7 separate regions of the Homo sapiens genome follow, and regions 1, 3, 4, 5, 6 and 7 are each linked to region 2. The links are contacts of gene promoters, found by promoter capture Hi-C in blood cells and fetal thymus (Javierre and others, 2016). All regions are on one chromosome and are shown on one strand. Each heading gives the region's core, a stretch centred on a gene start or on the middle of the fragment in contact. The rest is flanking DNA. Distances are from core to core; before and after follow the strand shown.

Region 1 (2,945 bases), core at 446-2,945, 250 kb after region 2:
AGGGAAAGATCCCCGTGCTATTCACAGAAGCATCCTGTTGAGGACCCATATTCTGTTTCATGAAAAATCCCCAAGGAAGACACTTCCTCAACCGTCTCTGCAATCCGCCCAGGGAGTTCTTCTGGAAGGTCCAGTTGCACATCCCCTTAGTGATGGATAGAGAAGGACAGTCACCTATCAGCCCATGTCTTAAAAAGGCATGGCAACACAAAAGGATCTTTCCCTTCTACCTTTTCTCTCTTAAGGAATAAATAATTTTTAAACATTTAGTGCTTTCCATTAAAGACAACCTCCCAAATCTTAACTCTTAAATATTGGAGCTTGAGCCAACCTAAGTCCAGGAAGATTCAACCAGGATCAAACGCTCTTAGTCAAAATCCCCATAGCAACAGAGATGAACTGGGCAATTCAAAGAGAATCAGTCTCAAGGAAAATTTTGAATATAATAATGCATCATGGGATGCAGTTTTTCACGAAGGAAATTAGAACAGTTGACATGCTTTTGAAATCAGCAAATAGAATAACCCAGCATCTGTAGCAAATAGCAGTACTGATGTAGTCAGATTCCACCGGGAAAAATGTCACTGCATTGTAATAAAAAGGCTGCCTTTAGCAGTGGTGTTAACCTACAAGCAGTTTGGCCTTCTCAGGCTATTTTTCATTTCTCTTTACTACTTGAGCACCCATTCCCTTGTTACCCCCTTTCTTAAAATGCACAGGAGTGTTATGCGCTTTGGGGTTCCAGCCACTCCTTAGACCTATCAAAAGTTACCTGTTCCAGGCCTCTTTTCCTAGGGGCTTAATTGGATGTACCTGTGTTAATGGTTGCTAGAGGGTCAATGGGAATTTCCATTAAAAAAGAGACTCCAGGTGCAGAGTGTCTTGATCCTAGCAAAGGGATATTTAGAAGCAGATGGGCCTCCACCAAATAACCCAGAAGTAAATACCAATCAGAAAGATGTATGTTGTTCACCTCCCTAAACAATCAAAGGGAATGGATTGCTTATGACCATCTCACTTCCAGCCATCTACATGCATGCTGCCAGCCAGCAGGAGAATACACCAGGAAGAGTGCATGCTGATGGGAACAAGTGTCAACACAGTTTCCCTCCAGTTTATGAAGGGGCTACATCATGACAGTGGGCCAGCAGAGAATTCCAGCTCCCTCAAGCTTGTGATACCTGATTTCTTTTTCCTGTCAGCACATTAAATTGTGGTGCCAAAGCACTCACAGGTACAGAGTGAGAGTTCCACATGGGCCAGCTATGGCCACTGTTATGGCCACTGACAAGGTGTGCAACCCTAAAACCATCAGACTTCCCACTGTTCTTAGTCAGAAGGACCAGAGTGGTGCATGGATCTGTACAAATACAGCCCAGGCATGGAAAAACATAAGCCATCCCTCCCAACAACTGTGGGCAGCTGCCGTTTTATGTGCCAAGACTCACACTGGAGAGGCGTGATGGAGCTGTACCGGAAGGGGTGTGTCTGTGGCCAGGGTCATTTCCTCCTGAGGACTCCAGACAACAAATGTGTCCTATCTGCTTCCTCTCCACTCCTCCCGCCCCTTCCAGGAGAGGGTCCTCTCTGCAAGAGGATTTTCACCTGGAACCTGACTCAGTTAATGCATAGTAATAATAATAATCAAAGTGCATGCACAGTTTCAGAAATTTACTATATTAATCAACACACTGAAAACATTTTGATTCCTAAGCAGCTTTGAGTACCAGTTTTTTTCCAGGACACATTCGGAATGATGCAGGTGGGGATCTGAAGAAGACTTTCACAGTAAAACTTTCCCCTCAAGGTCGAGCCTTCCATAAGCTGGTCCCTTTTAGGAAGATGGGCTGTCAGGGAAAGAAAGACATAGTAACATTCTGACTGTGGGGCTCCATCCCATTCCTCTCTCTTTCCCACTTCTTCTTTAGAAATAGCATTCCAGTACAAACTCTAGGTGGAGGAACACATGAAACTGTTTCTTCTCAGGTGCATTAATGATACATTCCCTTCTCTACTGACTTTGCACCTTCCAACTCCTCATTGCTGTCTTCGAAGAGCAGGAAATGCTCTTTATAAACAGATTTATAGCCCTTTAAGCCATCCAATACAGATTGAAAGAAATATCATCACCACTTTTAACTAAAGCATTCTGTCTTGCAGGAAGGTATCATCAAGATTCTAGTGTGCAGATTTAGCCTCTGTCTAAACGTACCACATGAGAAGCTTAGAGCCTCAAATTGTTCTTTGTGTAAGCGTTTTCTTGTCATTGATTGGTTGGTTCATCTCCCCAAATTAGGAGACAATTTTTCCATGAGTAAAAGTCCACATTAAAAGTGGAGTCATTCTTATCAGTAGAATCAAAATGAGATTATTATTGTCCCCTGATCCTTTCTAAAGTTCATAACTTCTTTAAGGAAACTTTAAAAAATATTTTGTTTGGCCTGTTCATGAAACTTTTGATAATTTTATCTGCTCCAATCCACCTTATATGAGCTCAAATAATCATATTTAAGATTTCAAGAGAGCACCTATGTCTTCCATACACCAGTTTCATATAAATGCATTGCACGTTCTAATACAGTAGCCTTGTGGAGATGCATGTCTTGTGGGATCACAATTGCGGGGCTCAGGGGTCTTTGTGCTGGTAGACTTTGAAGGCTCTCATCCTACTTTCGTACCCCTAAATTGTTGACTGCTTCATAATGCTTCTAGGTACTAGGAGCTTTAGAGACTTTGCTTTACTCCCGTTGAAAAGCCACTGTTACATTTTGGTGTCATCTGTTTCATTGACTTCTGACAAGATGAAGTTGGGGTTGTCATAGCCTCTCTTCATCCTGGCTCTAACATCTTTCTCATTATAAAGGCACATGGCACAGTGAGGGGTCTCCACTTCCACTGTCTTGCTAAAGTTATGGAAATCCACTCGGTATTTCCCTTCCTTTGTC
Region 2 (3,355 bases), core at 811-3,310:
ACATCAGAACCTCAGTTATCAGTAAGAAATTCACCAGTGCAATCAAAGAGAGAAATCTGTTGATTATTTGTTTGCAGTGTTTTGCCTTCTGCCTCACCCTCCCCTAGGTGAGAGGACCTGCACCCACACACCCAGTTTGTTGAAGTATTACTTCAGACAGTCCTTGACCTCACTGGCACTCTGATTTTTCATAGCCCTATGCTGTTTACTTCTATTCTCTCATATTTGTAAACCAGGCGGGGCGCAAATGATTGCTCACCTTTTAGAGATGAAGGGAAGAAGGCACAGACACGTTCAATCCCTGTTCTCTGTTACAAAGCTAATCACTGACATAATCCAAGTGCACAGCCACTTTCCCTTCTCCGACCCAGCGCTGGTTCAAGTTCTGACCCCACTTGCCTTTGAACTCCATTATCGTCCGGGACCGGCCACTGGCCCAAGTCGGTGCTCTGGCCACAGACTGCCAGATGCCAAAGGATCCCACCCCTCTACCAGCTTCCCCCAGGCTCTGCCTCAGGACATCCTTTCACAGCCAGCAACTAGCACCTCCGTGTAAGGAGCCTGCCGGGCAAAGATGCCCCCTCCATAATTAGGCTCTCGGCTTGGCTTCCCACATCCTCAGCAGCGGAACCAGGACGGAAGAGGCTGCATGGATGCCTGAACTGTTTGTTATTTCACTATTGAGTTGGCAAGGATGGAAGTAGTTGATTTACAATTAGAAGCAGCATGCTTCTTCAAATATTAATATTAATAACTGCACTACTGAACACATGAAAAGACCTTTTCATCTTCAAAGCACTTTGCAGACATTAACCCATTAGCTCTCCCTTCCCTCCATTCAGGAACAACAGGTGAGCAAGACTCTCAACAGCAGCAGTGGCCACCCTGCAGCCCTTGTGCACAGCCCACGGCCCCTGAAGAAAAAGCGTTTTCTCTTTGGATAAAAATAGGCCACCAAACCCAAAACCACAACTGATGAAAGAGTTATAGTATCAGTAATTTTACAAATCAAATGGAGCTGATGGAGTTATCATTTTAGAATTGGTATTTCCTGCTGTTTAACAAATACTTTTTTCTCAGTTGCATGGCAGTGGTCTAAAGTAAGAAGGAAAATGGACTTGAGATTAAAAACAAAAACTTACCCAAAAGGTGATAAAGAAATCCTGCAATAGAATGCATTGATTTCAGTGACCCAGCACCCTTTTAAGTTTGCCTGAAGAAAATACTACTTTAAAAGTTGGTAACAGAGACCTTTAACGGTGGGTGAGGAGTCACATACAAAGTGTCACGGCCAGATAAAATCACCGGATGCAGAGGAATTGCCATCGACATCTCCTGCCACTGAGTCCAGCTCTACCGTGGGGACAAGAAATACCTCCCTAACTCTGAGACAACCGCGGCCCACACCCACACCATGTCTCAACAACAGACTTAGGAACTTGTAGATCTTTGGACAACTGCAGGTCAGTCCCAAGACAGAGAAAAACACCAAACAGGCTAGTTTGGCTAGCAAGATTCAAACCTGTAGCAATTTCCTCTCTATTAAAAGCAATTCATTAAACTACTAGCAGGAGAAAAAAGTAAAACAATAGATTTACTAGGAGTGAAAGAGAATAAAAAGAAATTTATATATTTAACTACAGCTTTATTTCTTTGGAAGTGCTCCAATTTGCAAAAAAAAAAAAAAAAAATCAGGGTTTCTGACAAGTAATCTACGGGTATCTAAAACGTGCATGGTTTTACTTTTGTGAAGCAGGGAACATTTTTAAAAACATAGTCTTGCTTTCAGACTATTCTGACGAGGTTAGGAAGTATTTTTGAAAATTGTTAAACAATTAAATGGGAATATAGAAAGACGTGAAAAGAGAAAGAGAAAACTCACTTGTATCCTGAATCTCCCTACCGACTTACTCTTTAATTCCACAGAAATTTTTTTAAAGCAGGAAAAGGAAAATGGACTGAAAAGTTTTAGGCAGAAACTGACACACACCTCACTTACTACTTTGCCGGAGAGCAGATCCTGAGTGAGCTTCCCTCAAAGTCTGTGGTCTCTTTCCAACTACCTGCGGGAATCCTCTGCTCCGTAGCTTAAGAGGATGCAAAGACCATAATGTTTCTAATAGAGCTGCCTCCTTAAATTGGGGGGTGTGGTCAAGCCAGGGAAAGCTGGAAAAAAGGCAGTCTTCCTCTTGCCCCTGGCACCAGGACAGCAGCCACTGGCACAGGCACAGCAGTCTAGGTGGAAAGCACTGTTGATTGACAGTGGTGGCACCAAATCACACATTATTTCGTATTCTTCAAATTGTGCTTCAGCTGAATATAACTCAGCCTTGGAGAGTAACAGGGAGGGAGATGAGCAAAAGGGAACTAGTTCAGTGGGATAACACTGTATCTCACCTCATCATTTGCTGATGCATTTACTCTCTGCTGAATATGTAAATATTCATGCTTCATGTTCCTTGACTTTCTCAATGGAGCCCCCATTAACCTAGGCAAGGTCTCAGGTGAGGGAAAGGGATTGCTTTAGAAACACAGGACGTCCACCACCCAGTCACCTGCTCAGGCTTCCCGTTTCTCTCTAATAACTTGATATGAAATGTGATATTTTCTAAAGAAAAGAAAATAATTTTGTGGAAGAGAGCTGACTGGATATGGACTTGGGATTTCTGAAAAGTAAAGCTAAAAATCCCCTTTTCATATAAGTCTGGTTTTAGGCAATCTCTAAAATAAGGATACTTTTAGCAGCCCTGACTCATGGTCCGTGGTGCAGGAATAAAAGGGCAGAAGTGTTCATACATTTCTCATTTAGGGAAAATGTAAACAATATGAAAATCTTACATCTGTCCTAAGTGAAAATACACAGCATCTTTTATTCACATATTCAGGACTATGGTAAGAATGTTACAGCATAATCTCATTTCTATGAATGGAGTTATTACAATTTTTTTTGAGAAGTCAGTATTTGGCTGCTTAATCTAAGACTTTTATCCTAAAAGATTCCATCTTCTTTGAGTAGGAGGTGGGAGTTAAGATTTGTCATAGTTGGCTTCTTTCTCTTTTTAATAAAGATACAAACTTAGAAAATCCTTGAAAATCTAATAACTGTCATTTGGAGCCATATCATCATCAGCCTTCATTGTATAAAGCTGGCAATGCAGTTAAGATGACATTGTAAGTAAAGCAAGATTTTACTGCTCATCTTCTGCCTTTGCACATTAACTTGGAAGTAAGGAAGAGGTAATGCTATTGGTTCACTTTAGTTTAATAAATTGCCTGTGCCAGGCACTGTTCTAGGCACTAGAAAGATAGCAAGTTTGCATTGTAGTGAGGAGACAGACACATAAATCAACGATCT
Region 3 (3,335 bases), core at 616-3,115, 210 kb after region 2:
CCTCGCTGTGAACATTGCAACCTATGAGGGTCGGAGCAGGGCAGAGGGCGTTGCGTATAAACTGCCTCTCATTTATCCTCAAGCCTGATTACCTAAGTGAACTGTTATGTTTTCTTCTTTCTACCTGGAATCCTCTTAAACCAGAGGCAGATTTGACCTAAGAAGTATGCAATTTAGTTGCGTCTACATGACCCAATATGGAAGGAAGTTTTGGCAAACACCCAGTTAATCTAGTCAGTATGAATTGCTATTCCACATGAGGCTGGCTCAAAAATCCCACTTTGAGGCCTTATCAAAATAAATAGGTCATTTAGACATCTGTGTCACTTAGACACAGAGCCTGTGGGAGAAATGAAATAGAAGAAGGTCCCAGGTTCAGCAGGGAGCCTCACGTGGCCATGGCAAGGCTGTGCCCAGAGAATGTGCCACTTCACTCTCCACGCTTTTCATATTTAAAAGTCAGCTATTTCTTCCAAGCCTTTTCCTCGTAGGTCTTTTTTTCCCTTTGCCCATCTAATATCTTCAACAGTACCTCCATTATGCTCCACACAGCAGGGTCAGCTCCGAGGCAGAGGGGCTGTTGGATTCCAGGACAAGATCCTTGAGCAAAGGAAACCTGATCCAGGATGTTTTTTCCCTGTGAGTTCCAAGTTTGGGGAAAGCGTTCCCTGGATATTTTCCTCCTTCCAAGGTCTCAGTGGATGCCAAGCTCCTCTGTTGCTCTTTGGGATGTAAGACGCCGCTGAAGTGAAGGTTTAATAGCCCCTCTAGAATGGTGGGATGTAGTGAGGACTTGGTCCTGAGCTTCAAGGCCAGGTGGCCAGTGACTCTGGCACCTGACAGTGGGGGAGGAAGGAGGATGCTGGGTAATGCCTGGGCCTAACAGCCAGGCAGACCACCTGTAGCCATCAGCCCTCTCTGTCTTCTGGGGTGGGGTTTCTCAAACCAGGGTCCAGGATAATAATCCACCTCTTCTTTTAAAAGAAAGCCACGATTTATTTTATTATATTATTATTATTATTATTATTATTATTATTATTTTGCTTTGGAGACAGGATCTCACTTTGTCACCCAGGCTGGAGTACAATAGTGTAATCATAGCTCACTGCAGCCTTAAACTCCTGGCCTCAAGTGTTCCTCCCACCTTGGCCTCCCAAAGTGCTGGGATTACAGCCCTGAGCCACCACACCCAGCCTGAGAGCCAAGCTTTATTTAAATTTGGGAATCACTGTTCCAGGAGCACAGGAATAAAACTGTCCTTCATCCTTTATAGCCCTCAGGCTTCTCTTCCTTTTCAAGGCCTTCCTCAATGGGCTTGGTAATCTCATCTCACCAAGATAAGCATGGTAGAGGGGCAAGCAGGATGGAATAGACTCCATGTATATGGTGTGTATTTTTAAAATCACCATTTATCACATGCTTATTTAATCCTCATAGCAACCGTAGAAAGCACCTGTTATTAATGCTTTTCAGAGAAGCAGAACTGGAGGTTCAAAGCAGCTGAGCAACATGACCAAGGTCACTCCACAAGGCCAATGGCGGAGCTGGGATTTGAATCCCGGGTTAACTGATTCGAAGTCCTATCTCCTAACTGCCAAAATAATCCCCAGGCCCACCAGAGAGAAAGGATACCTTCGTGATGACATCCTAAGCCCTGCATCTACTTTGCCTCAGGGTGGGGCTGAGGGCGCGGACTCGAGCAAAGACTGCAGCAGATGAGAAGCTGGTCCTGAGCTGTGGGTTGGGAAGGTTCGGGCAGTGCAGCAGTTCTCACAGGTGGAGAGCAGGATGAAGGAACGCTTAGAGGAGAGCAGCTTCTGCAGGTTGGTGGCTGGGAGAGGCTGCTCCTCCCCAAAGACTGGACCTATTAGAAGCACAGGACCTCTGATGGAGATGGGGTTTTAGAGGATCTCCTAGTCCAGCCCTCTACCAGTACACGTCATAACCTGTCGGACAGCCCAACAACAAAGACCGCCGCTCACCTGCAGTTTCTTCCCTGTCGGAGTCTGGGAGTGAATCTTCCTCCTCGTGGGCTTGGCTCTCTTGGGAAGTTGAGGGCTTTGGGTCTCAGGTCTGCCATTGATTTGAGCATTTCTCCTGTGCATCCTCACTCTTTCAAGAAAGGAGGTCTGGATCTGGCTACCAAATCCCCCTGCTCTGCTGGGAGCATGAGCAGCCTTGCCCATTGCTCGGCTGAAAGGTCTGCATTCAGAAGCCAGGCTTTCCAAGGATAAACAGGGTTAGGTGCTGCCAGCCTTCTTAGCAGCAACCAGAAATTCAATGAGAAGTTTCAGGGAAAATTCATCTTTTTCCACCCAGTCATTGAGAGCAAGGTTTTATGACACAGAGGATGAAGAGAGAGGCTTTTGTGGGCTGATGTCGCTGTGTTGCTGGCCTCTGGTCAGGTCACAAGGTGGAGCGCTGCATGCCGGCAGGGACGTTTGGGCTTTCAGACAGCAGAGGCATCAGAGCAGAAGCAAATATCTTCCCAAAGATGTTTGGCCATATTTCTAGGACCAGGTTAAAAGCTTCACACAGAAGCTAAGTTAACATTGGTATGTCTATGAGAGGGTCATGTCCAGAAACAGCTTTCGCCTTCCAACAGAGACTTTGCGGAAAAAAATCTCCATGCTCATATTTCTCTACCTCAGGAGGCTCTCCTGGAATCTAAGAGGCCATTTAGTGTCAAATTCAGCCCCACTAAGCATCACATAATGGTGATACTGTTAAGGACATCATATATGTGAGGCTGAATTATCCACAATGGCTGGCAATGTCTTCATTCTCCAGACTGAGGCTCCGGCCTCTTTGCTTTGGCAAGAGTTGATCTCAGGACTGCCTGAAACCAGAAACTCCAGGCAAAGCTCTTTGGGTCACTCTTCTGAAAAGGAATCACAATAATAAGATCTGTTATCTTGGTACTCTGTAAAGCCAAGGTGTCAGCCTTCACGACAGTGAAAAGTTAGTTTGTCAGAACCAGGGTGTGATTGTCTGCTGATTAAGCCATCTGCCACCACAGAAACAGACCAAGATCATCAACTGGTACACTGGTGCCGACGGCCACATTTTTACACACTGGGCCTTTGGCTGCCACCTCAAGTTTGTCAGTTCTCAGGAGGCAGACTCCAGGCACCACATTCGAGAGGGCCTCCATGCACGCTCAGGCTTCTTCTCATAGCAGGCACACCCTGCCTGAGCCCCACTCCATGCGCTGACGGAGAGTCGGGGCAGGAGCTCTCATGCAGCCAGGTGTTGGGCTCTGCAAGGGGGTTTGTGTGGGGATGTGAGCCACTGGGTCAGCTCCCTGGTTCAGGCTTCTGCATTCAGGTTATAGA
Region 4 (3,128 bases), core at 243-2,742, 190 kb after region 2:
GTGCTTGACTATTTATTCTGGTGGTTTGGGAGGGGAGCTAGACTTTTACATTTTAAATGCAAATGTATTTTCCAGGGTAGAGAAGAAATAGCAGTTCCCTGTGCCCCTACAGACCCTGTCTGATGGCCAGGCATGCTAGGGAGGTGCTTGTTCTTCACACCTGGGCGTGTCAGCTGTGCCAGAGGAGCTGTGTCACACGCCACACAGGCGCCCACCCCTCCCCCCCACCACCACAGGAAATGCAAGGAGGACTGTGATGGCTGGGGTGGCCACGGTTCTTGGGGGTAATTCCCATGAGTCCTGGGAAACTCCAGGGTTTACACCTGTCAATCCCAGCACTTTGGGAGGCCAAGGCGGGTGGATCACCTGAGGCCAGAAGTTGGAGACCAGCCTGGCCAACGTGGTGAAACCCCGTCTCTACTAAACATACAAAAATGAGCCAGGTGTGGTGGTGGGCGCCTGTAATCCTAGCTACTTGGGAGGCTGAGGCAGGAGAGTCGCTTGAATGCGGGAGGGGGAGGCTGCAGTGAGCTGAGATCGCACCACCGCACTCTGGCCTGGGCGATAGACCGAGGCTCTGTCTTCAGAGGAAAAAAGGTTGCCCCCTTGTGGACAACTATCTACAGTACCCATTTTGAAGCTGAACCCACTGAGGCCCAGACAGCTTCAGAAATTGGTTCAAAGGCATCCAGCCGATTGAGAGCACCTGGCATCTCAGACTAGGGCCTCTGGAGTCCCAGTCCCTGGCCTCGCGTTGCCGACGTTCCCCCGGCCCTGGAGACAGCAAGCCAGCCTGCGCCACACAGGCAAGGCAGCCTCACTCCCGGCCTTCCACGTGGGCAGCCCGGCCACTTCCCCCACAGCATTTTCTGTTGTCATTTGTACCAAGAGATAAATGCTTTCCAAAAACTTTCCTGTGGCCTCCTGGAAGGAGGCCGATTAAGCCAAACCTATCACCACGCTAACTTTGTCCTTCTCTGGGCCTGACTGTCGGCCCCACCAGTATCTCTCCCGGACACACCCCGTGTGGCAGAGGAGCCTTCGCAGCAGCTGCTGCGGGAACGAGATTTGTCCCTTCTCAGGCCAAGGCGGGGAAGGACCTCGAAGAAACGGAGGGCGCCGGGCTGGCAGTTCAGGCTCAGGGCCGCTGGGGGGAGTTTGCGCAAGGCTGGGAGCCCCGAGGCCCCGGGGGAGGTGGGGAGGCAGAAAGAAAAAGAGCCTTTTTTAAGTTTTACAAACAAGTTCGTTTTGTATGTCAATCTGGGTCTGACCTGGAAAAAAAAACACTAAGAAACTGCGTCTTCAAACAGTGGCTGCTCAAAAGAATGAAACTGCGCGACCGGGAGACCACGGAAAGGGTGTCTATCTTCATTCCCATTTTTAATTTAAACTTTAATGGAAAACACATTTTGCATTTTCTGGTCTTTCCACCTGCAGCCTCAGATGGTCGGGCAGAGGTTTTGAGTCTGGGCAATTAAGCTGGTGCAATCTTATCACTTCCAGGCCTGGGTTTGACTGGTGAAGGAGAACAGAATGCCAGCTGAACAAAAGGCCAGGTTTCCCTGGACCCAGTAGTCAGCCAGGATTGTTGTTTAAAGATCCCAGAGCCTTGCACCCTCCCGCTCCTGCACACTCAGCCAGAGCTGTTGATATAGCAGTGCAGCCCAGAGAAAAGAGAGACCTGGATTCAATAGGCTGGCTGTGAGGGGGCACTGGTGAATTCTATGGTCACAGCGAGGCAGGAGACAAAGGCTTTGGCACTGGGACGCTTGCGCCCCCTGGCCCAGGTGTCCCCGATGAAAAGCAGGTTAGGTTGAGGGAATGTGAAGCAGCAGAAACCGTGATTGTTGGGGTTCTACCCCACACCTGCAAAGCCTCACACTGCTCACTCCCCTCTCCTTTCAGATCCAGGTACTGTCTCTAGCAGCACATGGATTCAAACATGGAATGGAAAATGATCTTTTCCCCATGCTTGCACTTTGGGAAGGCCATTCTATTCTCAGCAGGAGCTACTTTATGCTTTTTAGAGCAAAAATGCCCTCAATAAATAGATATATGTATATGCATACACACCCATATACAAATATATACATACAAACACATATACAGAAACTTACAAATAACCAAGTAGGCAAATCTTATACTTCAGTTTGAACTGAAGTACAACACAGAGAGAAGTGCAAAAATCATGAAGTGCGCTACGTGAGACATTATCGTGACGTGAATCCACCCACTCCCATAAGCACCTCCCGGGCCAAGGAGTAGAATTTCAGCCCCCTGTACCCTCTCTCCACCCCACAACCGCTTCCTCCACAAAACTAACCACCACCCTGCTTCCCAGCCCCATAGGTGAGTTTTGCCTATTTCTACGATTTAGCCTGGAGGCAGTGGGATCTGCCAGATTGAGGACAGGTTTTGTGAATAGACCACGATGGGGCTCCTGCCTTCTGCACTCTCTGGCTGTGTGATCCTGGGAAAATGATATGACTTCGCTGAGTGTTGCTCCTTTCATCTGTAAAAAGGAATAAGGGAATGCTGGCTCTGTATGGCTTATGCAAGGATTAAGTGAGAAAATAGATGGAAAGCGTCTGGCACACCGTGCATGTTCAGGGAGCACTGCGTCCCCACCACCACCTTCATCATGGCCTGTTTACCCTGATGTGCTGGCATCGGGAAGGTGGGGGAGCTCAGCAGCACAGGCCTGTGGCAGGGTCAGGCCAGAAAGAGCCTCAAGGCAGGAGAAAGCAGTCCAAAGCCACAGAGAGGGAGGCCAGACTCCAGGAGGACCTGCCTGCATCAGAACAAGTTCCTTAAGAAAACAGAGCCTGGGGAACTAATGAAGTAGAAATCGGAGAAGAGGAGGGAATCTAGGTCCCTTGGGAGAGAGGCCAGATGCCCCCAACCAGCCCCTCCTTGGGGAAGGCAGCCTCTCCTTCTAGGAGTGAAACTTGAACCAAGAACAGTCTTTAGGGCAAAATCCTTTTCCTAGGTTGCCATGAAATATACATTTCATGCAAGCTTTGGAGAGGTCAAATGACCCTTTCTCTCAGCTTTCTGGGAGTTTCCTGTGGAATTCATGTGTGCCCAAAGAAGAACTTTCACCAATGGGGAAATTTAATAAATGTGGT
Region 5 (3,311 bases), core at 682-3,181, 180 kb before region 2:
CTCCATGAACTTGAGCAAGTAATCCTTCTCAGAATGTTTCTTTTGTTGATAAAGTTAGGAGTTGCATGATAATGATGTCTAAGTTTAAATTTTGAAAAGCTTGAATTTTATGCCAGATGGCTTTATTATTTCCCTGGTTCCAGATCCCTTTCCCTCTTGCCTTTCACGCCCTGTGCCCTAGGGCTGTATGGTGTGTACCCCTATAATTCTCCCAGCCTGCAGGGCAAAATGTAAAAACTTCAAGCCTCTTTTTCAGCAGACAGAAGGGAGGGTCAGGGCAGGATCTCGGTAGGTTTTGTCCAAGCAGTCGGCTCACTCTTAAGCTGGCCTGAGGCAGCAGCACCTCCTTACGCTCATGTGCAGAGATCCAGCCCTCCCAGTGCCCCGCTTTGAGTCCCAGGGCTTTTCTCAGCCCTTGCAGCCAGCTGAGCCACTTCTACCACTCCCACCAGCTTATAAGAGAAAGAGACTTCTTCTGTGCTATGTCTAATATTATCAGGTCCATTTTGAAAATGAGACTAACATAGCCACAGCTCCTCCCTCCAAGGGAGACTCTCATAGCACTATTCAAATTGCATGATGAATCAAGCCCTGCTGAACTGCATTCGTAAATCAACCGGACAATGCTTAGAACTTCAGGAGGAAATATGGAATTAGATGTGGGAGCTCTAAAAATCACCTCACAAGACAGAAAGGGAAAGAGAAGAACCAGAAGGAAGACTCAGAAAAGAGTTAGACTTGAGCTGGCAAGAGAAGCACAGAAACGCTTCTTCTCAGAGCCTAGTTATTGTTGGCAAGCACCAGAGCTCTGCTGCAAGGACCTCCCATGGTGTCCAGCAGAAAGAAAAAATCAAAAAAGATGGGAGCACTCGGGTGTTTTCATTTTAATTAGGGTTATTTATAGGGTAAAGATTGCTGTGTTTACATGGGTGCATTTTCTTTCTCAATGGTCATAGTCAGCTTTTTTTTTTGTTTTCTCATTATAGAAACAGAGAAGCAACCTAGCTGCTTCTGGTTAGGACCCATCTGAGATTCCAGAAACCTCTGCTGAGTCAGGTGGAGATTGAGCTGAGTCTTAAGAAGCAAGAGTTCTGAGACTCTGCCACTTCTGCCCCAGGGAAGATGCAAACTGCTGACCTGCCCAGGATGGATGTCCCTGGGAAGGAAGTCTCTGGTGTCAGTCTGGAATGCCAGCCAGGAATTTGGGCAACAAGGAGAAGCAATTGCAAATAGTCTCTCAATGTGGAAGCTGAGAAGTCTGAGTCTGAAACAACACGAGGAGTAAAGCCCCCATGTCTCCCCCTCAGCTCCTCCAGGGTTTGGAAAGAGGAAGGAAGGACCCCTGAGTGTTTCGCTGTTTATTACGAAGAGGACTAAGTAAAGGATAAGGAGATGTAAATGCCAGTCCCAACTCTACTGTAAGCAGGAGCCCTGGGCAAGTCACTTTCCTTCTCATTCTATAAAAAAATGGGCTTCTATGGACCTCAGTTTCTCTTCTATAAAATGAAGAGGCTTGGACTCAGTGGTCTCTAGGAGTCTTTGCTGTTTGATTTTATGAATCAGGGAGTTCTATAAGAAGAGGTCAGAGCTGCCTCACTTACTATTTCTTCAAAGCATCTTTGGCCAAGGCATTGGATTTCTCAGCAGGCTTTTGCCCAACAGCCAGTGGACTGGTGCCTACTTCTGAGCAAAGGGCTAGGGAAAGCAATGGTAGCTGCTCAAATCTACAGGAGTATTTTCCATACATTAATATGGAAAAGCATGTGTCATGGACTGGGCCCTGAGGAACACCTCAGCCTGGTAATTGACAGGAATAATTATTTTTTTCCACTGCAGAGAGAAGTTCATGTGCCTTGAAAGTTAAGGAAGGTAAAAAACACACTTACCCAATAAGCAGACACTCAAATATATGAGCATAATCAGCAAGGTTTGATGTAGACGGGCAAAAAAACAAAAGAAAAGAATGAGCAGTTGGGGCCCTCCACTCCACAAAAGAAAGCCCCTGAGGGTCCCCCATTTTCTCACCAAGTCCCTTATCCTCTCCACACCCCAACTCTGACTGCCTTGTCCATTAAACAGCCTCGAAATACTCCTTGTGTTTGCCTTGGGTAGTGGCGGAAAAAATAAAGAAGAGAGATAAGGGATCAGAAGGAACAGATCTTGAGAAATTTATGAATAATTAATAAGAATTGAGAGAAGAAAGAGAGTGAAAAAAAATTTCCATGGGAAGAATTCCTCTACCTGGACAGGACAGGAAAGGTAATCTTGTGCCTTACCGAGAACCCCAAAGTAGACTGAGCTTGTCCGTAGCCCTTGCCCCCTCTCACCATGTCTTACCCCAGCCATTCTTCCTTCTCCCATAACCTTTCATTCACATCTCCCCATTCCATTTCTTAGCAACCATGTTAGCAAGTGACTAGTGTCCTCCCCATATCCTTACACAGATGTGAGCAGTTCATACTGTCACACTAACTGCAGACTTCATTCTGCCTGTCTCTTTCAATCTATTTAGAAGGGAAAGACAAAAAGAATGGTGAGAAACTACTATTCTGTGACCCAGCAACTGGCCAGAAGTTTCAGATTTGGAGCAAGGCTGAGAAGAGGTTGAAGAAAGATTAGCAACGCTATAATTAGCTGATGGGTACTGTTGTATACACCCTTACTTATAGCAAAGAGAGCTCTCCATGATTCATTGTGTTATTTCTAGGCATTTGGCTCATACCAGCCAGTTTGCTTCAAGATTTTCTCAAATCTTTTGTGGTTCCCATATGCTGAGAAAGCCATTCTTTAGGAGCAGAGATGTTATCTATTCCTCAAGTTGTGCAATCATCAGTTTGCAAAGCCAAAGCCCATTGCTGCCTTGCCAGATTTCATCTGACCCCAAACAATTAAGGGACTAGTATTGGTCATTTGCATGGCATTTTGAATCCCAAAAGAAATATGAAAAAAATCATTTATCCTTGAAAGGTTGACTGAAACAATCTTGCAGCAATTTTTCAGCTCAGCCCACAGAATGTTTACAAATCTCTTCTGACACTAGGCATAGTCCAGCAATGATATATCTGATAGAAATTGCCCAAAGGAGTTCAATACTAAAGCTCTGAAATTGAACCCAAATTTAAAAACACCACAGCCTGATTTCCTTTCAGTCCAGCCTAATATTTTTCTAGCTTTTCTTCTACTAACCAACTTTGAAACAGCTGGCCTGATGCTAGAATAGGTCCTGTATTTAGTTCACAAGTTGGAGGAGGGGTAGTGTTACCCCAAGAAGCAAAGAGACTCCTGTTTTTAAGGCAAGGCCCTCCTTGCAC
Region 6 (3,169 bases), core at 236-2,735, 250 kb before region 2:
AAATCCTGACATTTGCAACTACATGAATAAAACTTGAGGGCATTATGCTAAGAACAATATGTGTAATGACACAGACAAATTCTATATGATAAGAGAAAGACAAATACTGTATGATCTTACTTATATGTGGACTTTAAAAAAGTCATATTCATAGAAACAGAAAGTAGAATTAGAATAGTGGTTGTCAGGGGCTGGGGGAAAGAGAAAAGGAGAGATGTGGTCAAAGGGTACAAACTCTCCGTTACGAGAATAGGTTCTAGAGACTTAATGTACAGCATGGTGACTATAACAATACTATATGATATAATTGATTTTTTTTTTTTTTTTTGAGACAGAGTCTTGCTATCTCCCAGGCTGGAGTGCAGTGGCATGATCTTGGCTCACTGCAATCTCTGCCTCCCGGGTTCAAGCGATTCTCCTGCCTCAGCCTCCCAAGAGGCTGGGACTACAGGCACGCGCCACCATGCCCAACTAATTTTTGTGTTTTTAGTACAGACGGGGTTTCACCATGTTGGCCAGGATGGTCTTGATCTCTTGACCTCATGATCTGCCTGCCTCGGCCTCCCAAAGTGCTGGGATTACAGGCGTGAGCCACCACACCTGGCCTTGAAATATTTTTAAACAGTAGATCTTAACTATTCTCACTGCACACATACACAAAAGATAACTATGAGGTTATGGATCAGTTAACTTGTTTGTGGTAATCATTTCACAATGTATACATCTATCAGAACATCATGTTGTACATGATAAATATACTCAAATTTTATTTGTCGATCATACCTCAGTAAAATAGGGGGAAAAATAATCTGTGTTGAATTGCTACAGTCTCTGACAAAATTATTAATAAGTTAAATATGTATTAATTTTTATTTACAGCTTTATTTTTACATTTTGGGCCCAGTCATTCTTTTTTCTAGTCTCATATTTTGTGAAGGCATCGAAAAACATGCTGACCGTAGGGGCACCATGGCTATAACGACTTGCCTACAGTTTGTTTCCAAGGAAAAGCCGTAGAAAGGATTAGAATCTCACAGTTGGATTATGTCTGTAGTCTCTTAAAATGAATACTGTACTGTGCCAAACAACCTTTAGTCTCCTTGCTTAAAAGCCTCAAGTCAGATGTATGATCTCTCTTACTCTGAGGAAATGCAGGGGCGTGTCCCTGGTGATCATCTTGGTTGAGTTTCCTGTCTTGGCTCCGTTGCCTGAAACCTCATCCAATGTCACCTTTTAGTGAATCTAAAAGCCACTCAGAAAATAGGCAGAATCTACCTATTACTCTGAATTATTCGTGGGCAGGGCATAGCGTACCCATCTCCCAAATCACACTTCAGCTTTAGGATTTCTACGTCTTACCCCCATAGGTATTTTGAGGAGCAGGGCAGCCTCTATCGTGGCTTCATTTATTTTGCTTTCGGAAAAGTGGAAAGAGATTTCCCTAAGCACTGGAAAGAATCTGAGATAGGAAAGAGAAAGCCAGAAGAGAAACAAACTTCAGACAGCAGCGTGGAGGAAGGAAGTGGAAACAGAGACCAGATGAATTCCGCTCCCCAACTTTCAACCCAAAACTGCCTCCTGAGCTGCGGGGTCCCAGAGGCTCCTGGGTCCTCCAGCAGGAATCAATGTGCACATTTCCATATCAAAGAAACAAGCTCCCCGCACAGGACCTCAGTGAAAGGAGATCTGCACTGAGAAGAAAGCGAAGTTAGGCGCCTCGGCAAGCATTTAGAAATAACTTTAAGCACCAGCAGCTCAGGCCTCATTTTTGTAATGCTCAATCACGGATCACCTATCGACCAACCCATCAAACTCCCCGCCCCCAGCACTTTTATTTCTCCTCTTTAGGAAGTACACTTCAGTATCTTTGGCACAGTGCATGAGCACGACTAAAGTAAAACATCGCAGAAAACATAGCTTTAGTCTACCCTTCGTGTCCTAAAAGGAAAACCAGTAGCTTCCCAGGCCACCGGAAGGGCAACACATGTCCTCTGCAGTTTCTGCACACGGGAAGGTAAAGACAGAGAGAGGACCTACTCCTCAACACAGAAACATTTCAAAATCTTTCCTCGCCTGCAACCCAAGCTGAAGTCATTCTCCCCAGAAATAACAAAAGTTGGAAGAGAAGCCGGAGACAGGATAGGTGCAGGAAGCCCACACTTTGAGGGCAGCACTCAGACACCCTCTCCTGTGTGCAGGACGTGCCGAATGTTCAGGTGCAATGAGAATGAGCCATGCTTGGCTTACGAGGGCAATCTGGCCCATCAAGTGGCCTTCGCCTCTGGGAGTAACAAAAATGCACTTCAAAATAGCTTCTGTAATCAAGCTGCATGGGTGGAGTACTCCCCAGCTGACTCCAGGAAGTTCTCTATCCAAAGCTATTCATTAGGCCAGAGCTGTGCAAATAATTAGTCACCCACTTGCTCCATAACCCTCCATGACAGCCCAGGCATTGAGTCCAGGTGGGACCATCAAGCCATGCTCTGGTGGCTCATGCATTATCATAGAAATGGGAGGCTTTATTTATTTTACTAAAAAGAACAAAAACAACAGACTGCTGTCCTTTAGACAATAGGATCACGTCATCTGAGCCCTCTGTGCCCCAGGTGACAAGCCCAGCCCCAAGTTCTCTTTCCTCAGCCTCCCCACACATGTTCTGGAGGAGATGGGCCCAGCAGGCTGCTCTGAGGCCTGGCTGTCTCATCCTGAGAATGCGTCACCGTGAAGTGCCCTTGCAGATGTTTCCTGGGCTAAGCCTGACAAGGCTGAGAGCAGAGACTTTGGCAGCAGGAGGCCAGGGGGAAACAAGAGGCAGCCCTGAACTCAGCCTTCACGGCCCTCCCTAAACACATGGGCCAGCCACAGGGAAGAAAAAAATGCCCTGTAGCACAGGAATCTAAAACATTGCTGTTGTTCTAGTTAATAAAAGGACTTAGAGATTGAAAAGAAGTACCATCTGTATGGCTGGCAACAGACAGCATGATTTTGATGACTGACTCTGGGGAGATCTGAGAAAACAGTACATAATATGTCCTTACCTCTGCTCCATCATTCATGACCCAAGCTCCTGCCCTGTCTTCTCAGGAAGATTCTTACAGTAACTCCAGTTTGGAATTCCCCTTTCATATTTGAAATAACAACAGTAATAGTGACCACTAATGCTTACCGA
Region 7 (2,942 bases), core at 118-2,617, 210 kb before region 2:
CCATTTATAGATAGAAGGAAGAGATTAGGTATGTTGAAAGGGGAAGGTTTTTATGCTTTGCTTTTGATCCCCGTCTGGCACTCCCCAGAGCTGCCATGTGCCCCACACCTGATAAATACTGTTTTATAAATGGCAAAGAAGAGAATTTAAAGCCATAAATCTATCCCCACCCCCCTTGCTTTTTTATGGATCTAAAGGATAATTAAAACCATGCTCTTGCTTTGCAAATGAAGACTTGTCTTTCTGGCAGTCCCCATTTCAAATGAACTTGGGAGCAGTGTCAGTGCAAAGGGCAGCCTTGGGTTGATGCTGTCCAGGCTGGGATGCAACTGTCTCTAACCTTGTAGGTCTCAGGGTGTGTGTGCACCACCCAGGGGCTGCTGCAGTAAGCGAGACCTCTACACAGCTCTGCCTGGTGCTTTGAACTTGGTTAATGCACAGTGCTAATGAGGCCCAGGTCAATATTTAGCTATTTTCAGAGAAAAAAAAGAGAAAAACAATGTCCTTCTTTGGCCATAGACTGCTCCCCCAAGCTTCAACCACTTCTTTCAGGTATTCATAGACACAGGAAAACTGAGAGAAGGAATATGAATGGATCAGGACTGCCAGAGAAACCATACAAAATATTACATCATCATATAAATGAATCATCATAAAGGCCATGTACTGTCAAGGAAAATGTTTTTGTTAAAGCTGTAAGTGGAAAATTAATAATATAAAATACGTTTGCATTATGAGGATAGAAAGTAAAAATAAATTATTTTTTACAATATATTTTCAATTATCAAATAATATGTGTGCACATGGTTGAAATAAAGAATAATAAAAAGGGCTTATACATGAAAGGCCTCTGTCCCTTCCCTCTTCCCCTTCCCCTCCCCAGAGAAAACTCTTTTAACTCTTTGGGCTATTTTTCTGGGAGTTAGTGCCATCTTTCTAGACAATGCATGTTTTTGCCTGCACTTTTAATTTATTCATTTTATACATTATCTTTTGAATCCCCACTATGATAGATTAAGATTTAGTTCACACAAACTCACCCTAAACCCAATCTCGTAGTAAATAAAAATTATGTCATTTATTCTTTAATCTTTTGTAATTACTTATTATCATACTTTTGTTTCTTGTTTTACCAACTAAAGGCAACATCTTTTAGCATCCCTGTCTTTTCTTTCTACTCTCAGCTCTCCCCACCGCACCACCTGCTACCTCCCAATTTCTCACATGCGCACTTCTTTTATATTGTCACAGAGGAGGGAAGGTACATTTTATTCCATAGCCAGCTTGCATCACTGAGCTGATTATAGAAGTTGAAAGTCAACTAACCCTATCCCTGTTATTTTGACTGTGTCAGTATTGCACAAAGCAGAGTAACGTAGTGTTTTCATGATTACAGTTCTTTCTTATAATGCTCTATCCTTTTTCTGAGATTTCTAGATGCCAGTTTTTTAAAATTTTGCCTTTATCACACTTTAGAATTTTATATCAAAAATCCTTCCCACTCTCTTTTTACGTCAATTCTCCTGCCTAGGCCCCTTTGTCCTTCTGCTCTAATCGACAGCTGTGCCTTCAGGCCATGTGCATTCATCTTCCTGGGAATTGTTATTCTTTTCCTGGGTCAGTTCCACCATATCTAGATCCTATATCCTCTTTGTTGGTTTGATCCCTGGTTTGTTGCAGCATTGCAGCAAACACACATCCCTCTTTCTTTCTAACATATCCTACTTTTCATTCTGGTATACCACCCTATGTTAATGATCTTGAACTTCACCAAGTCAATTGTGTCAACGTTTCCCTTCCTACTGATGGGTTGAAAAGTGGACATATTGTCAATTTTAGACAATGAAAGGGAAATTTTGTCATGGAACCTCTGGTGAAGTCTTTGATTTAAAAAATTCACAAAAAGAGAATGTCCTTTATTCCTCTGGTCATTTTCTTATCTGTACATGATATCTGGTTATACAAGTAATCCTCCAATGCAAAGAGAGCTATCTCAAGAATGATGCAACTCACCAAGAACAACAGAAAAGCAAAGCAGGAAGAACTTAAAATGTTGGTAACATAATTGAGTCAACATTATAGCTGTCCATTCTAGACTTCTTGTTATTTGAGATAATCGCTGTCTTTCTGTGTAAACCAGTTGAGTTATAGCTCTCTACTGTTGCATTGAGTCATTTTATCTAACATAGGCATTTCTTCAGGAAGCTTTCTAAAATAAGTGTATAAAGTGAATTTTCTGAGTCCTTATAAGGAAAAAAAAAAAGTCCTTATTTTACCATAACAATTTAGTGATAGTGTAGTTGGGTATAGAATTCTAGGTTGAAAACTCATTTTTCCTAAAAAATATAATGCTAATGCTCCAATGTCTTTTCTCCTGTTCCCCACCACCACCTCTCTCTCTGTGTGTCTCTTTCTTTTTCAGTGGGCTTTTAGAATCTTCTCTTTTTTCTTGGTATTCTGTGAATTGACCATATGTTTAACTATGGCATTTTTTCATTCATTGTGTGAGACATACAGATATCATTATAATTTACTTGTTTCTTTTAGATAGTTAAATTAATAAGGTTTTGTTGTTGTTTTTTATTTGTTTTAGAGAAAGGTTCTCTCTCTGTTGCCCAGACTGGAGTGCAGTGGTGTGCTCACAGCTCACTGCAGCCTCAACCTCCTGGGCTCAAGAGATCCTCCTGCCTTACCCTCCCAAGTAGGTAGGACTACACGTATGTGCCACCACACCCTGCTAATTTTTTATTTTTATTTATTATTCTTAATTTTTTCATAGAGATGAGATCTCACTATGTAGGCCAAGTTGGTCTTGAACTCCTGACCTCAAGAGCCCTCCCACCTAGGCCTCTCAAAGCATTAGGATTACAGGCATGAGCCACTGTGCCTTGTTTTAAATGAATTCTTTGTATGCACTTCTCTCTTTCTGGAAACGTGTTAAT

The links. The method cuts DNA at HindIII sites, captures the fragments that hold promoters and counts their contacts. A CHiCAGO score of 5 or more calls a contact.
Region 1: a contact is called between a fragment that was not itself captured here and the fragment with the promoter of ETS1 in region 2, in 9 of 17 cell types (total B cells, activated CD4 T cells, naive CD8 T cells and 6 more). The highest score is 13.8, in total B cells.
Region 3: a fragment that was not itself captured here is called in contact with the fragment with the promoter of ETS1 in region 2 in 9 of 17 cell types (total CD8 T cells, naive CD8 T cells, neutrophils and 6 more); the score reaches 8.6 in total CD8 T cells.
Region 4: a fragment that was not itself captured here is called in contact with the fragment with the promoter of ETS1 in region 2 in 9 of 17 cell types (activated CD4 T cells, neutrophils, naive CD8 T cells and 6 more); the score reaches 9.7 in activated CD4 T cells.
Region 5: a fragment that was not itself captured here is called in contact with the fragment with the promoter of ETS1 in region 2 in 10 of 17 cell types (total B cells, activated CD4 T cells, total CD8 T cells and 7 more); the score reaches 15.9 in total B cells.
Region 6: a fragment that was not itself captured here is called in contact with the fragment with the promoter of ETS1 in region 2 in 14 of 17 cell types (activated CD4 T cells, total B cells, naive B cells and 11 more); the score reaches 25.7 in activated CD4 T cells.
Region 7: a contact is called between a fragment that was not itself captured here and the fragment with the promoter of ETS1 in region 2, in 9 of 17 cell types (activated CD4 T cells, total B cells, total CD8 T cells and 6 more). The highest score is 16.1, in activated CD4 T cells.

The regions. Positions count from the first base shown.
Region 1 is chr11:128,836,364-128,839,308 of GRCh38, forward strand. It overlaps KCNJ1 (potassium inwardly rectifying channel subfamily J member 1), which reads right to left. Exons shown (of 3, transcript NM_153766.3): 3 at 1,657-2,945. The coding sequence ends at 2,762. Among named protein-coding and RNA genes, the nearest start is that of KCNJ1, 29 kb to the right of the region's middle. The HindIII fragment of the contact is 1,052 bases long and covers 1,170-2,221 here.
Region 2 is chr11:128,585,498-128,588,852 of GRCh38, forward strand. ETS1 (ETS proto-oncogene 1, transcription factor) reads right to left here and starts at 2,061. Exons shown (of 10, transcript NM_001143820.2): 1 at 1,991-2,061. It overlaps LOC105369565 (a long non-coding RNA gene), which reads left to right. Exons shown (of 5, transcript XR_948163.3): 4 at 843-1,463. RefSeq lists a silencer at 2,014-2,220. The HindIII fragment of the contact is 9,036 bases long and covers 1-3,355 here.
Region 3 is chr11:128,798,015-128,801,349 of GRCh38, forward strand. All of the region lies in intron 5 of FLI1 (Fli-1 proto-oncogene, ETS transcription factor), which reads left to right. Among named protein-coding and RNA genes, the nearest start is that of KCNJ1, 68 kb to the right of the region's middle. The HindIII fragment of the contact is 1,322 bases long and covers 1,205-2,526 here.
Region 4 is chr11:128,776,067-128,779,194 of GRCh38, forward strand. The region is part of intron 4 of FLI1 (Fli-1 proto-oncogene, ETS transcription factor); the gene reads left to right. Among named protein-coding and RNA genes, the nearest start is that of SENCR, 82 kb to the left of the region's middle. RefSeq lists an enhancer at 662-1,267. The HindIII fragment of the contact is 3,048 bases long and covers 1-3,016 here.
Region 5 is chr11:128,405,442-128,408,752 of GRCh38, forward strand. No RefSeq gene overlaps it. Among named protein-coding and RNA genes, the nearest start is that of MIR6090, 120 kb to the right of the region's middle. The HindIII fragment of the contact is 3,668 bases long and covers 98-3,311 here.
Region 6 is chr11:128,340,330-128,343,498 of GRCh38, forward strand. No RefSeq gene overlaps it. Among named protein-coding and RNA genes, the nearest start is that of LINC02098, 130 kb to the left of the region's middle. The HindIII fragment of the contact is 4,157 bases long and covers 1-3,169 here.
Region 7 is chr11:128,379,790-128,382,731 of GRCh38, forward strand. No RefSeq gene overlaps it. Among named protein-coding and RNA genes, the nearest start is that of MIR6090, 140 kb to the right of the region's middle. The HindIII fragment of the contact is 1,672 bases long and covers 532-2,203 here.